Regions from separate parts of the Homo sapiens genome. Here all the other regions are linked to region 1. Evidence: promoter capture Hi-C in 16 types of primary human blood cells and fetal thymus (Javierre and others, 2016). All regions are on one chromosome and are shown on one strand. Each heading gives the region's core, a stretch centred on a gene start or on the middle of the fragment in contact. The rest is flanking DNA. Distances are from core to core; before and after follow the strand shown.

Region 1 (2,545 bases), core at 30-2,529:
TTTCGATTGGCTGAAATCTGTGTTCAGGAGATAGCACAGTCTACTTTGCCGAATATAGATTATAAGAGTTTAGCTCTTGCGTTTTACTAGAATCAATCACTTTCCTTCTTCTAAACAAGTATTTAAATACTTCACTGCGTCTGGATGTGGAATGCAGGGCAGCAAAGCTCGCGCCAAGGCTAAAACGCACTCTTCCAGGGCTGGTCTCCAGTTTTCTGTGGGCCGAGTGCACCGCCTCCTCCGCAAGGGCAACTACGCCAAGCGGGTCCGGGCCGGTGCGCCGGTGTACCTGGAGGCGGTGCTGGAGTACCTGACCGCCAAGATCCTGGAGTTGGCGGGCAACGCGGCCCGAGACAAGAAGACCCGCGTCACCCCCCGACGCCTGCAGCTCGCCATCCACGACGAGAAGCTCAACAAGCTGTTGGGCAAAGTTACTATCGCGCAGGGCGGTGTCCTGCCCAATATTCAGGCCGTGCTGTTGCCCTGTCTATACAAGTGACTGACTAGGCAAACAGGACTAATGAGAAAATGTTTAATATCTCAAGTAAGTGCTTTAATGTAGTCGGGAAGAAGCAAGTTCAGTAACGTTTACAAAACCTTGTAAAGTTTAGATGGACAGGGCCACTGCAGTGTTCAAGTTATCCTGCAGAAGAGGCTAGTGGGGGTGGTATCCTGGAATATCATCAATAGGACCCAACGAAAAGTAAATGATAAGAGTCGTTGGAAAACCTAAAATTAGCCTGTGCCTTAAAAATTCTCAACCGAAGCAAAACACCATTTGGGACAAAATAGAATTCAGTTAACATTTGTTGCTCACTGTTGTATGTCGGTGACTTCTTGGCTCGTGATTTCCCAGGTACATCACCCAGGAATCCTGCCTTATAATGGTCAAAGGTTTCCAGCTAGCAGCAGTCCAGGTGACTCAAGAAAACGGCACAAGATAAACTTCTCAAAACGTGGTCCTCCGAATCTGGCCCCACAACACATCTACTGAATGAGAATTAGCGTCTTCCAAGTCTTAAAGTAGTCGTTTACGGACTACAGCTTGAGAAGCGCAGAATTAGAACTTTAAGAAGTTAACGTTCTTGGATCGCAGACTAACCGAGAAGAGAGGATTCAAAAATGAAGTGATTCATCCAATCAGATTTTCCAGTAATTCACCAATCACATCGTTGGACTCTTCAGCCAATGGTTTTGTTGCGCGGGTCTTTTGAAAATCAACAAGGCCAATTAGAATGTTTCTGAGTATATATAAGGGCAGTTTCCACTCTGCCAAGTGGCTGAGTTTTTCTTTCAGGTAGTCTGAGATGGCCCGCACCAAGCAGACTGCACGCAAGTCCACCGGTGGCAAAGCGCCGCGCAAGCAGCTGGCCACTAAGGCGGCTCGGAAAAGCGCGCCGGCCACCGGCGGCGTGAAGAAACCTCATCGCTACCGTCCCGGCACCGTGGCTCTGCGCGAGATTCGCCGCTATCAGAAGTCGACTGAGCTGCTGATCCGCAAGTTGCCTTTCCAACGCCTGGTGCGAGAAATCGCTCAGGACTTCAAGACAGATCTGCGCTTTCAGAGTTCCGCGGTGATGGCCCTGCAGGAGGCCTGCGAGGCCTACTTGGTGGGGCTCTTTGAGGATACCAACCTGTGTGCCATCCATGCTAAGCGAGTGACTATCATGCCCAAGGACATTCAGCTCGCTCGCCGCATTCGTGGGGAGAGAGCGTAGAGGTTTCCGGGCAGTAATTCTATCCAACTTAAAAAGGCTCTTTTAAGAGCCGCCTACTTTCACCCGAAAATAGCTGTGATTAACTAATCAAATCTTTGAAACTAAACATTGGTTTTAGTACTTAAGTCCTCATTTGATTGGCTAAAGTTAATGGTAAGCTTGCTATATTTGTTCCCGTGCTTTTTCCCGAAAGTGCCAGATTGTCAGCGTCCTTTTCTAAACTGGCTTTTAGGGGTTTGGAGCTTCGATTTGGTAGTGGAAGGGGCCACCTGGGGGCGTTTATATACATTGTCTCAAGCGTTAGTCGCGTTGTCTACTTACACCCATTATAGATGGGATTTTTTTTCGTTGTGTATTTCTGGTTAATCCCTTTTAAAACTTTACAGGTATGAGCATTGGCAGTTGAGAGTAGGTAGGGATATCCTTGGTTGCTGCTTTTTCGTGTCTGAAGCAGCTATTTCCACAATTCCCCCTTTTTTTAAACAGTTCTTGGTTTTTCTGTGAAATGATCCATTTTTTAATTCAATATTAGAAATTGGCGGCAGAAACGAAAGCCAGATTGGCCTCTACATTACTGGCAGCATGGGCATTACGTGGGAACTTGTTAGAAGCTCCCAGGGCATTACATGGGAGCTTGTTTCAATCCCCATCTAGGGCTGGAGTCAATCTGCATATACCTCAGATGATTCTCATGAACACTGATTTAGGAAGCCTAGGTTGTTGGTTTTGGTCTCATCAGTAAAGGCATCCTGCCTGTGAACTCTTACAAGGAGTGAGCTTTTGCAAAATGCATGTTTATTTATGTTACAGAATGAAATATTCTATGA
Region 2 (2,545 bases), core at 20-2,519, 1.5 Mb before region 1:
AGAATTGGACAAAACTCACAAACAAAGCAATGAAGGAATTAAGGGTTTTATTGAAAATGAAAGTACACTCCACAGTGTGGGAGTGGACCTGAACCTAGGGGCTCAAAGGCCCCGTTACAGAATTTTCAGGAGTTTAACCCCTAGAGAATTCTTATTTGTTACTTCGGAAGCCCTATATAAACAGACAGGATGAGGTAAAGTTACAAAGTCATTTACAGCATATGCCCTATGGAGAGGATATTTCCTTTTATAGCTGAAGTATGAATTGGCCTTATGTTCCCTGCCTCCAGACCTTATTTTCCTGTCTCATTTCCTCCCTGAGAGATGTGATCCCCATAAATCTTTATGGGAGGCAGAGGGACTGATGGTCTTTTTTCTGTAACTGCTTCATGCTACCTTGGGGCGTAGTCCCTACCTATTGTGGATCATGGAACTCTCTCCCTGTTCTGTCTAGTGAAGGCAAGGTAGCTTCTTGATGGCCAGGGGTGGTGTCTTCACATGGAGGTGGCTGGAACCTTTGTTTCATGATCATCTGAAGCTTGATGATTTCTAAGCAAGAGGAAATGAATTTGGTTAAAAGATTTAATGGGAACTTCGGGGGTGGATACCTATGCTCTCAGAAATGTTTGTTATAGAGGTTTGCAGGAGAAAAAACAAAACCTGGTTTGTTCTAGAAATCTATGTGTTTCCTTAAAGTCTTAGCAGAAGTGACTCCCTTTTGGTTTGGTTTGGTTTGTTGGGGCCTAGTGCATAAGCCTAGTCCGAAACAATGGCCTTCCAGAATTTTGTTAAAAAAATTTCCCCTTTTTGGTCAGGTTCTCAGGTGAGAGTGTAACCAAAACTTAGGGCCTTAGTGCTGCTCTCAGTTACCATCATTTTGGGCTTCTGGTCTCAGCACATCATTCATAGGTTAAGGGGTCCTCATGGTTGCACATTTCCTTCAGCTCTTGTTATTCCAGCTGAAGAAAGACCATTTGACATTCTGGAGATGGCTACATGCAAGCATTTAAAACCTTCGAGGGAATGCAGTGCACCAGGGAGACTATTATTATGACTATTGGGAGGATGATACCAAGAGTTTGGAGTGTGCTCCTTACCCAAGGTCCCCATAAACCAAACCTCTTAAAATCAAATAGATCAAAGGATCAGCTAGATAAAGAATTTACTCACTTGACTTAGCAATTTCTTTGTCAATCCTCTACCACTGAATTTCTGTAATCTTCATTTGACGTATTTTTCCATAGGCCACAAGTGCCAGCAGCTGCACAGATACTTCTCTGTTTAGCCAATTCTATCATAACTTTCACAAGGTAATTTAGAGTCTATTGTGTAACTATAGCCTTTACAGTAGAATTTGCTATAGAACCTATTGTGAGGGATATATTTCTAATCATTGCTTCTTTTTCTTTAAACCATGGAAAAAGGACCTAACAAATGATGCCTTTTTAGAAGAGTGAAGGCCTTCTGGCAATGTTCTCTTTAACCCATGATGTGGGTTAAGAGGAGTGAACCAATGTTTTGTTTTTGATTATGAGGCAAAGCATGTACCTTTAAAGTTTCTTACCTACATTGGGCCTTCATCTTTTATCTATCAAAGTATAAGTTTACCCATTTAAAAAGCTGGTTACAAACTCCTTCGCAAGTAAGAGTATACACCATAAGTGCACATAACAGACACCTTTTCCACTTCTATTTTTTTGTAGAGGCATAAGCAACAAAAAATATTCGAAGATAAGTTTCACGACAGTAGAAGTCTTAATCTGTGAACGTGAGAAAAGCTGTTCATAGTAAGGATGCCATTCTCCTCTTGGGAGAAATTTCTTTGGTTAATTTTACCTTAAGGGTTCCAGTGGGCACACAGCTCCAAGAGCTTGGAGGGACCCTTCTCAGTTGTGAGATTATGAACTCAAAGTTCAAGATCCCAAAGTTTTGTTGTAGTGTGAATGGCAAGAACAGTCTTTCTCTGATGCTTCTAGAAGATTCAAATCATAAAAAGCTTTCTTTGCCTGTTGAAAATACACTGTAGTAATCTACTGTTATAACATCAGCCCTCTTGCATAGGAAACCTTTTATACAACCAGAAAACATGCACTGAAAATAACAAATGAGCTCTCAAGCTTGGTGTTTGCTTGGTGGGGACCCACGTGGGTTCAACATGTGTATTGAGAAGTGTTATTTCTGTTCAGGGCCCATCTACCCTGGTCACGGCATGATGTTCGTCCACAACAATTGCAAGTTGTTCAGATTTTGTAAATCTAAATGTCATAAAAACTTTTAAAAGAAGTGCAGTCCTCGCAAAGCTAGGTGGATCAAAGCATTCCAGAATGCAGCTGGTAAAGAGCTTACAGTGGATAATTCATTTGAATTTGAAAAACGTAGAAATGAACCTATCAAATACCAGCGAGAGCTATGGAATAAAACTATTGATGCAATGAAGCAAATTGAAGAAATCAAACAGAAATGCCAAGCTAAATTTATAATGAACAGACTGAATAAAAATAAAGAGCTACAGAAAGTTCAGGATATCAAAGAAGTCAAGCAAAAC
Region 3 (2,545 bases), core at 20-2,519, 1.5 Mb before region 1:
TCAGGGCAGGGTCAGAGGGCCAGGCTGAGGCCAGTGGAGACCTTGGTTCCACACCTGTTTCAGTTTAAAAAGGTGTGGGTACAGAGAACTTGTGTTAGGGCCAGGGAAGATGACTCTCCCAGAGAGGCTAAAGGGGGTGCCAATGTTTCCACTTGTCTATAGACTTCCCTTTCCCAGTACTCCTCCTGCATGGTTGGCACCTGTTGATTCTGTGAACTGCAAGGGCCTCCCTCTGATTGGTTCTGATAGCATGTATCAGATGGGGGGAGGCCATCAATCTCTTATTTAGGAACCCCCTGCTGCGTCAGTCAGATCCACAGTCTGTGGAGTGGGGGCACTTGGAGGCTGCCCCACTACCAGCCCTTGGATTGCCCCCTCCCAAGTTAGCCTTTTGTATTTAATTGTCAGATTAAATTTGTCAAATTTGACCCCCATTCTGCTGCCAGGCTAGCAGAGTACGATACAGCTTTTCGATGGCCTTGCCAAAGGCTATTCCAAGGGGAAGAAATAAAATCAATTGATTATGCCAGGGCCAAGGGCCCTGCTCTATGAAGTCATCAATATTGCATCTAAACAGTATTGTATCATCCAATTCCCCCTTCTGGAGGTTGGATAGCCATGAGCCCGGGGCCACCCTGCACAAGGCTGTGCCAGCCTCATGTCCTGACTGCCAAGGGCACAATGGAAGCTTAGGCAAACCACCCTGGATGGGAAAAGAGCCTAGAATGCTAGACACCAACCAAATAAGTAAAGATTCCAGCTTGTGGGCGTGGTGATCTACACCTGTAGCTTGTTGGATCACCCTGAACATCTGCTGCAACACTGGGTTGTGAGCCAATCTACCCAGGCTGTGCCATTCTTTTCATGACAGCAGAATGTTCTGTCACTCCTCATCAACTACCTGAGATAGCCAAGAAAACATGTCTTCTCTTGGTTTTTGCCCATAGCTGTCCTTGAGATCACTAATTTGTCTTTCTGTGAAGGAGAGCATTTTGATGGTTTCTTGCTGAGCTACCCCAACATTCTTGCACTGCTGGGTAAAGACGGGCTGCATCATGCACATTTATTCCTTCTTAAGTGCCTCAGAGACTTTTCTTATAACCTCTTGGGTGTCTTAGCGTCTGAGTGTCCATTTCCCAAGATCTCCATCCTGGGGAATGAGCAATCACATATGTGTCCCAAAGCTAGGGGACAGAGTTTCACACTCCTCTGTTTCCACATTCCTTTCTCTCTGCCTCAATCCATGCAGCCAGCTCATTCACATCTGTGGGGAGGTGACATATGTCCCACTTATCATTCCTCCTTCCCCATAAAACATCCTGCAGCATGTCTGGCTCCTGCACCCCCAGACTGACCTCTCTTCCCTGGACTGGGTACTGAAGGACATTGCCCCTCCCTCTTAGCCCATAAGTCATGGTTCTGTCAGACCAGACTGTGCTGCTATACCAATTTTATGAAGCAGGATCACTAATTACCAATCCCAAAGGAGAACTCTCACTGAGGGAAGAATAGCAAAAATCATTACTATGCTAACCACCAGGAATCAGAACATTTCCACCCACAGCATCCTGGGCTGCAGTTTTACTATTTGCCTCAGTCAGATGAGACAGAATACATTCACATGCCACAAGTTATATGAATCAGGTTTATTGTTCACAGATAGGCAGTAAGAGACAACAGAAGCCTAAGATGCACAGCAAGCCAGTCCCCCAAGGTTCAAGAAAACTGTCAGGGTGGATGGAGTCTCCACTGCATGGTCCTCATTTGTACCACAGCTAAGGGACCCTGAAAGGTAACCCACCCTGGGTTATATACCTCAGGGGCAACAGGATATGCTGGGCAAAGCTTTGAAGGACATCTTTTTAGGGAAGGCAATCCAGGGCCCTATCTCAGCTTCTGTCCCCTTGGTCTCCAATGCCAGGAGTGAGGACGCAGAAGGGACTCCATGGGGAAGGAGAGATTGGGGAGGCAATTTCTCCTCTCCCCACCCTCTTTCTCACCCCTTGTACATTAAACTGCTCTTTGCCCCCATGCTGGGGGGCACTTGGAGGCATTCTCCGGGAAAGAGTTTTTAGCTTGAACTTTAAAGACCTGAGTGGATCAGAAAGAAGGACCCTGTACTTCTGTCCTTAATCAGATGAGGGCCAGGCAAGTGAGAACCTTATATTCAGGCATGGCCTGGAGGACCGAACCCACGGAATGATAATGGCGCAAAGTACCACGAAATAGCGTAGGAAAAGTCTCTCTGACTGCACCCTGGGGTTTCATTTCTGCAAACAGATGACTGGGCCCCTGTTCATCCCCAACCTCACTGGGAGATTAGGCCTAAGAGGAGGGTATAACACCACTTGCACATGTCCTTGTTGACAGCTCTCACATACTGGAGCAGCTGCGAGTCAATGGGTGTCTGATTTCTGAATATGATTTATCCAAATTCACTCACATTTCAGATGTGGATTTATTTTCCAAGGGAATGTTGAGATTGCCACCATTAAAGGAAACTCAGTTACTTGCCTAAAGTGACAAAGACCTTCTTGACCCAACT
Region 4 (2,545 bases), core at 25-2,524, 1.4 Mb before region 1:
ATGGAGATGCTTGTCTTAAATGAATAAAGCCATGTCTATTCAAAACCAATTAGTCAAAATTAGTATCATATTCTTGGTTACTATTTTTTCATAAACTGTCAATTTGGTGTAACCTGGTTCTCATATCCCATTCCCCTTTTCTAGACATTCCTTTAATCAACATACTACTGAAGCTTTCCTTTTCTTTGTAATAATTTTAAAAACCCAGGTCTTTGTGATTGCAATGCTTGCTAGAGGCATCATGCAGGAAATGGCAGAAAACGGGTCCTCTTATATGCTGAACCAATAGTTCATGGAATGGTTGTGGGGGGGTCACAGATCTTGTAATCTGAAGTGCCCCATTGACTAAAAAGTAAAAAACACATGGCTGGGCGCGGTAGCTCACACCTGTAATCCCAGCACTTTGGAAGGCCGAGGTGGATGGATCACCTGAGGTCAAGAGTTCGAGACCAGTATGGCCAACATGGTGAAACCCCGTCTCTACTTAAAATACAAAAAATTAGCTGGGCGTGGTGGTACACACCTGTAATCCCAGTTACTCAGGAGGCTGAGGCAGGAGAATCGCTTGAACCTGGGAGGCAGAGGTTACGGTGAGCCAAGATCGCGCCATTGTACTCCAGATTGGGAGACAAGAGCGAGACTTCATCTCAAAAAAAAAAAAAAAAAAAAAAAGTATAAAACACAGGCTTTTATGTTATACAGACATGAATGAAAATCCTTGGTTCTGTCACTTACTAGTTGTGGGATGTTGGACTTATTACCAGGTTAAATCCTCTAAGCCTCAGCTTTACTGTGGTTAAATGGATATAAAAATATCCAATCTCTCTAACAGAGTTGTGAGGATTAAATAACAAAATTTGTAAACCTATTTAATAGTACTGGGCATACAACTCCTCAATAAATGTTATTACAATCACTGCGACAGAACAAAGATCACTGGAGGAATATTTCCAAATCGTTAGAGGTTTTAAGATCATCACAACTGTAATCCCAGCACTATGGGAAGCCGAGATGTGTGGATCACTTGAGGTCAGGAGTTCGAGACCAGCCTGGCCAACATGGGGAAACCTCGGCTCTACTAAGTAGCTGGGCGTTGTGGCACACACCTGAAATCCTAACTACTTGGGAGGCTGAGGCAGGAGAATCGCTTGAACCCGGGAAGCAGAGGATGCAGTGAGCCAAGTTGGCACCACTTCACTCCAGCCTGAGTGACAGAGCTAGACACCATCTCAAAAAAGGAGCACCACTGAACTTTGTAACATTAACTGACAGAAAAGACACTAGACACTAGAATTCTATGAGCCCCCAGCAGTGTCAGAAAATCCTCTTACATGTATTTTGTTTTTTGTTGAAGAAAAAAAACTTAAACAGAGAAATATTGCTAGATTTCTTAGATTAGATAAGGATAAAATGAGAACTATCTTATTCTACTCGTTCCTTGTATTATTCAAGATTCAGTACCCTGCTGGTAAGTTTCATTCAGCGAATCCAGCACACATGAATTAAATGCTAGTTAAGGTACAATGTCTCCAACAGGCACGATGTCAGAATAATGGTTTCTGTCCATCAGAACAAAGGATGAGATGCGCCTCTTGGATTTGACTGTAGCCCAATGGTCATCATCGCTGGCTGCACATTAACATTATCCAGGAAATTTTAAAGCTCTATAGGTGATTCTAAGGAAGAGGAGGACTGAGAGGCCGACTGTTAAGATGCACTGCTACTGTCCGATGAGCACACACTCATCCATAACGTTACACATTTCCTATTCACCTGATGCCCAGAATCATCAAACAGTGTATTCAACACAGTCACGCCATTTCTGTTTTCCAGGTGACTATCCTCCACAAGATACTGTTATCCAGAGCAGGTAAACTCCCTAGCATCTGTCGCTCAAGAACTTAAATCCCTCCCTGCACCCAACCCATCAACAGTGACTTATTACCATCCACAAGCCAGGCTGCTTCCCGATGCACCTTTTCTCCTGGGGAGTGCCCAGACGAGCGCCATCTGCTCCTGGGTCAGAGGAGTCCCTGCAGAGTCATCGACTTCCTCATTTCCAAAAGCCCCATAGGTTGCACTGGAGTCCCGAGGCGAAGCGCCGACACTTCATCTGCCCGTCACCTCCCGATTTTTGCAATGTGTTTCTTCTGAACAAGAATGTGTGCCCTGGAAGCCAACTCAAGTCCCAGACCTAGGTTTCTCGACATTTCCCCAAGTCCCACCTGCGTCAGGTTGTAGGCTCCGGGGCCAGTCCCTTTCGATCCGCATCAAAAAACCTGGCGATCCCCTTTGGGCACAAGAGCTCAGGGCGTTGGTCCCCGCGATCGCGGAAGCCCACTTCCAGAAAAACTCGACCACTAACAGTAAGCTTCAGGGGTAGCAAAAAGGGGCAGAAGGGTTTGCATCCCCTGGCGTCATTTCCGGGTCCGCTCTGGAAACCTCGGAGGTTTCCGTGTCTCTGTCGTTTATTCCAACTGTTAATGCTCCATGTGCCTTTGACTCTCCTCACCTTCCCTTCTAAACACACGGGGAAGAAAGGTTC
Region 5 (2,545 bases), core at 14-2,513, 1.2 Mb before region 1:
ATTATTTCCTCTTTAAAGGTTTGGTAGACTCCACCAATGAAGCCATCTAGGCCTGGATTTTTCTTTTAGAGAGGTTTTTAATTATAAATTATATTTTTAACAGTTATATTACAATTCAGATTATTTCTTGAGTGGGTTTTAGTAGTTTCTACCTTTTGAGAAATTGATATATTTCATCTAATTTGTCAAATTAATTGGCATATTATCCAAAATATTCTTTTATTTTTTGTATAATCTAGGTAAATGTCCCCTGTTTCTTTCCTGCTACATTTATTTTCTGAGCAGTCCGACTGGAGATTTATCAATATTATTCATCTTTTCAAAGCACTGGTTTTTAGATTTCATTGATCTTCTCTATTGTTTTTCTATTTCATTCTCTTTTGCTCTTTAATATTTGTTCTCTTCCACTTACTTTGAATTTAATTTACTCTTATTTTTCTCGTTTGTTAAGGTGAAACTATAGATGATTGATTGACACTTTTTTTTTTTTTAAGGGTCTGGCTCTGTCACCCAGGCTGGGGAGCAGCTGGGGTGTAGTGGCACGATTTCTGCTTGCTGCAGCCTCCACTTCTCCAGCTCAAGCATTCTTCCCACCTCAGCCTCCTGAGTAGCTGGGACTGCAGTCACCCGCCAGCCACCAACCTGGCTTGTCCCTCCCTCCCTCTCTTCCTTCCTTCCTCTCTCCCTTTCTCTCTCTCTTTCTCTCTCTCTCTCCCTCCCTCCCTTCCTTCCCTCCCTCTGACCTTTCTTTCTCTCTCTCCCTCCCTTCCTTCCCTCCCTCCGACCTTTCTTTCTCTCTCTCTCCCTCCCTCCCTTCTTTCCATCCCTCCTTCCCTCCTTCTCTTTTCTTTTCTTCCTTTCTTTCCTTCCTTCCTTCTCTCTCCTTCCTTCCCTTCCTTCCTTCCTTTCCTTCTTTCTCTTTCTTTCTCTTTCTTTCTTTCTTTCTCTCTCTCTCTCTCTTTCTTTCTTTCTTTCCTGTTTTCCTGTTCTTCTGGTAGAGATGGGGTCTCACCATGCTGCCCAGGCTGGTCTCAAATCCCTGGGCTCAAGCACTCCTCCTGCCTCAGCCCCTCAAAGTGCTGGGATTACAAGCATGAGCCACAGCACCTGACCACTTTTTTCATAATAAGCTTTTTTTCTTTTTTCTATAAAAGCTTTTTTCCTATGAAAAGCTTTAGCTGCATTTTGTTATATTTTGTTACCATTTTTATTTAGTTCAAAATAATTTAAATTTCCCTTGTGATATATTATTTGGTTTTAGATTATTTTGTTTAATTTCTGTTAATTGATTTCTGGTTTAATTCTGTTGTGGTCACAAAATATACTTTCTGTAATTTCAGTCCTTTTAAGCTTACTGTGACTTATTTTTTAGTCCAAAATAAGGTCTGTCTTGGTAAGTATTCTATGAGCGCTTGAAAAGAAAGTTTTCTGTTATTGCTGAGAAAAGCGTTATATAAATGTTAATGAGGTCAAATTTGTGGTAATGTGGTTCAAATCTTCTGTATTCGTACTGAATTTTCAGACTACTTGTTCTATCAATTACTGAGAAAGAAGTGTTAAAATTTCCAACTATTAGCCTGGCTCAGTGGCTCACGCCTGTAATCCCAGCACTTTGGGAGGCCAAGGGGGGTGGATCACCTGAGGTCAGGAATTTGAGACCAGCCTGACCAACATAGTGAAATCCCGTCTCTACTAAAAATACAAAAATTAGCTGGGTGTGGTGGTGGGCACCTGTAATCCCAGCTACTCAGGAGGCTGAGGCAGGAGAATCACTTGAACCCGGGAGGCGGAGGTTGCAGTGAGCCGAGATGGCACCACTGTGCTCCAGCCAGGGTACAGAGCAAGACTGTCTCAAAAAATAAATAAATAAATAAATAAATAATAAAAAATATAATTTCCAACTATATTTGAGTAATTTTTCTATTTCTCCTTGCAGTTTAGTAGGTTTTGCTACACATATTTTGAAGCACTATTTGTAGGTGCATACATGTAGGGTTGTTGTGGCGGCTTCTTGGTGCATTGACCTCTTTATCATTATTAAATGTTCCTCTTAATCTGATTATAGGCAGTAAATAGGGCAATTTCTTTCTCATTTTTTCCCTTTTCCCAGGTATCAAAATTAGTCACTGCCTATTGTCTATCTGAAGAAAATTGTTATATATACTTTGTACAGTTTTCCAGTTGTTTAAGGTGGTAGGGTAAGTCTGGTTTCTATTACTTTACCATGGGGAAGAAACAGGAGTCCTTTTGGCACTGGTCTTAAAATGACCAATTTCACTTTAATCCTGGTGGGATATCATCCTTTCCTTTGAGTTGTGTTTACTGATCCTCTTCCTCCATGATCCTTTTCTTGACTATACACTTTACTGCACCTAATTTTATTCATAATTAACATTGTGAGAGTCAACAATTGCAACAGGTCCATGAAAAATAATTGGTTATTAGTTACATGGATATCTTCTTTTATAAAATGTTTATTCAAGTTTTTGATCATTTAGTTGAGTCATTGATATGTAGCAGTCAAGATTCAATAAAAGAAGCAGAA

The links. Contacts are between HindIII fragments. The CHiCAGO score rates a contact against its expected background, and 5 or more counts as called.
Region 2: a contact is called between a fragment that was not itself captured here and the fragment with the promoter of H3C8 in region 1, in 1 of 17 cell types (M0 macrophages). The highest score is 6.4, in M0 macrophages.
Region 3: a fragment that was not itself captured here is called in contact with the fragment with the promoter of H3C8 in region 1 in 1 of 17 cell types (non-activated CD4 T cells); the score reaches 5.4 in non-activated CD4 T cells.
Region 4: a contact is called between a fragment that was not itself captured here and the fragment with the promoter of H3C8 in region 1, in 1 of 17 cell types (non-activated CD4 T cells). The highest score is 5.1, in non-activated CD4 T cells.
Region 5: a fragment that was not itself captured here is called in contact with the fragment with the promoter of H3C8 in region 1 in 1 of 17 cell types (naive B cells); the score reaches 5.1 in naive B cells.

What each region holds. Positions count from the first base shown.
Region 1 is chr6:26,270,147-26,272,691 of GRCh38, reverse strand. It overlaps H3C8 (H3 clustered histone 8), which reads left to right and starts at 1,279. Exons shown (of 1, transcript NM_003534.3): 1 at 1,279-1,774. The coding sequence starts at 1,308. The coding sequence ends at 1,718. It also overlaps the pseudogene H2AC10P. RefSeq lists enhancers at 171-510, 2,238-2,377. The HindIII fragment of the contact is 12,049 bases long and covers 1-1,878 here.
Region 2 is chr6:27,780,722-27,783,266 of GRCh38, reverse strand. It overlaps the pseudogene RSL24D1P1. Among named protein-coding and RNA genes, the nearest start is that of TRQ-CTG6-1, 9.4 kb to the left of the region's middle. The HindIII fragment of the contact is 1,458 bases long and covers 541-1,998 here.
Region 3 is chr6:27,764,249-27,766,793 of GRCh38, reverse strand. No RefSeq gene overlaps it. Among named protein-coding and RNA genes, the nearest start is that of TRV-AAC1-5, 12 kb to the right of the region's middle. The HindIII fragment of the contact is 1,157 bases long and covers 691-1,847 here.
Region 4 is chr6:27,693,907-27,696,451 of GRCh38, reverse strand. It overlaps LINC01012 (long intergenic non-protein coding RNA 1012), which reads right to left and starts at 2,417. Exons shown (of 4, transcript NR_038294.1): 1 at 1,946-2,417. The HindIII fragment of the contact is 2,198 bases long and covers 176-2,373 here.
Region 5 is chr6:27,498,583-27,501,127 of GRCh38, reverse strand. No RefSeq gene overlaps it. Among named protein-coding and RNA genes, the nearest start is that of TRS-AGA2-4, 3.2 kb to the left of the region's middle. The HindIII fragment of the contact is 178 bases long and covers 1,175-1,352 here.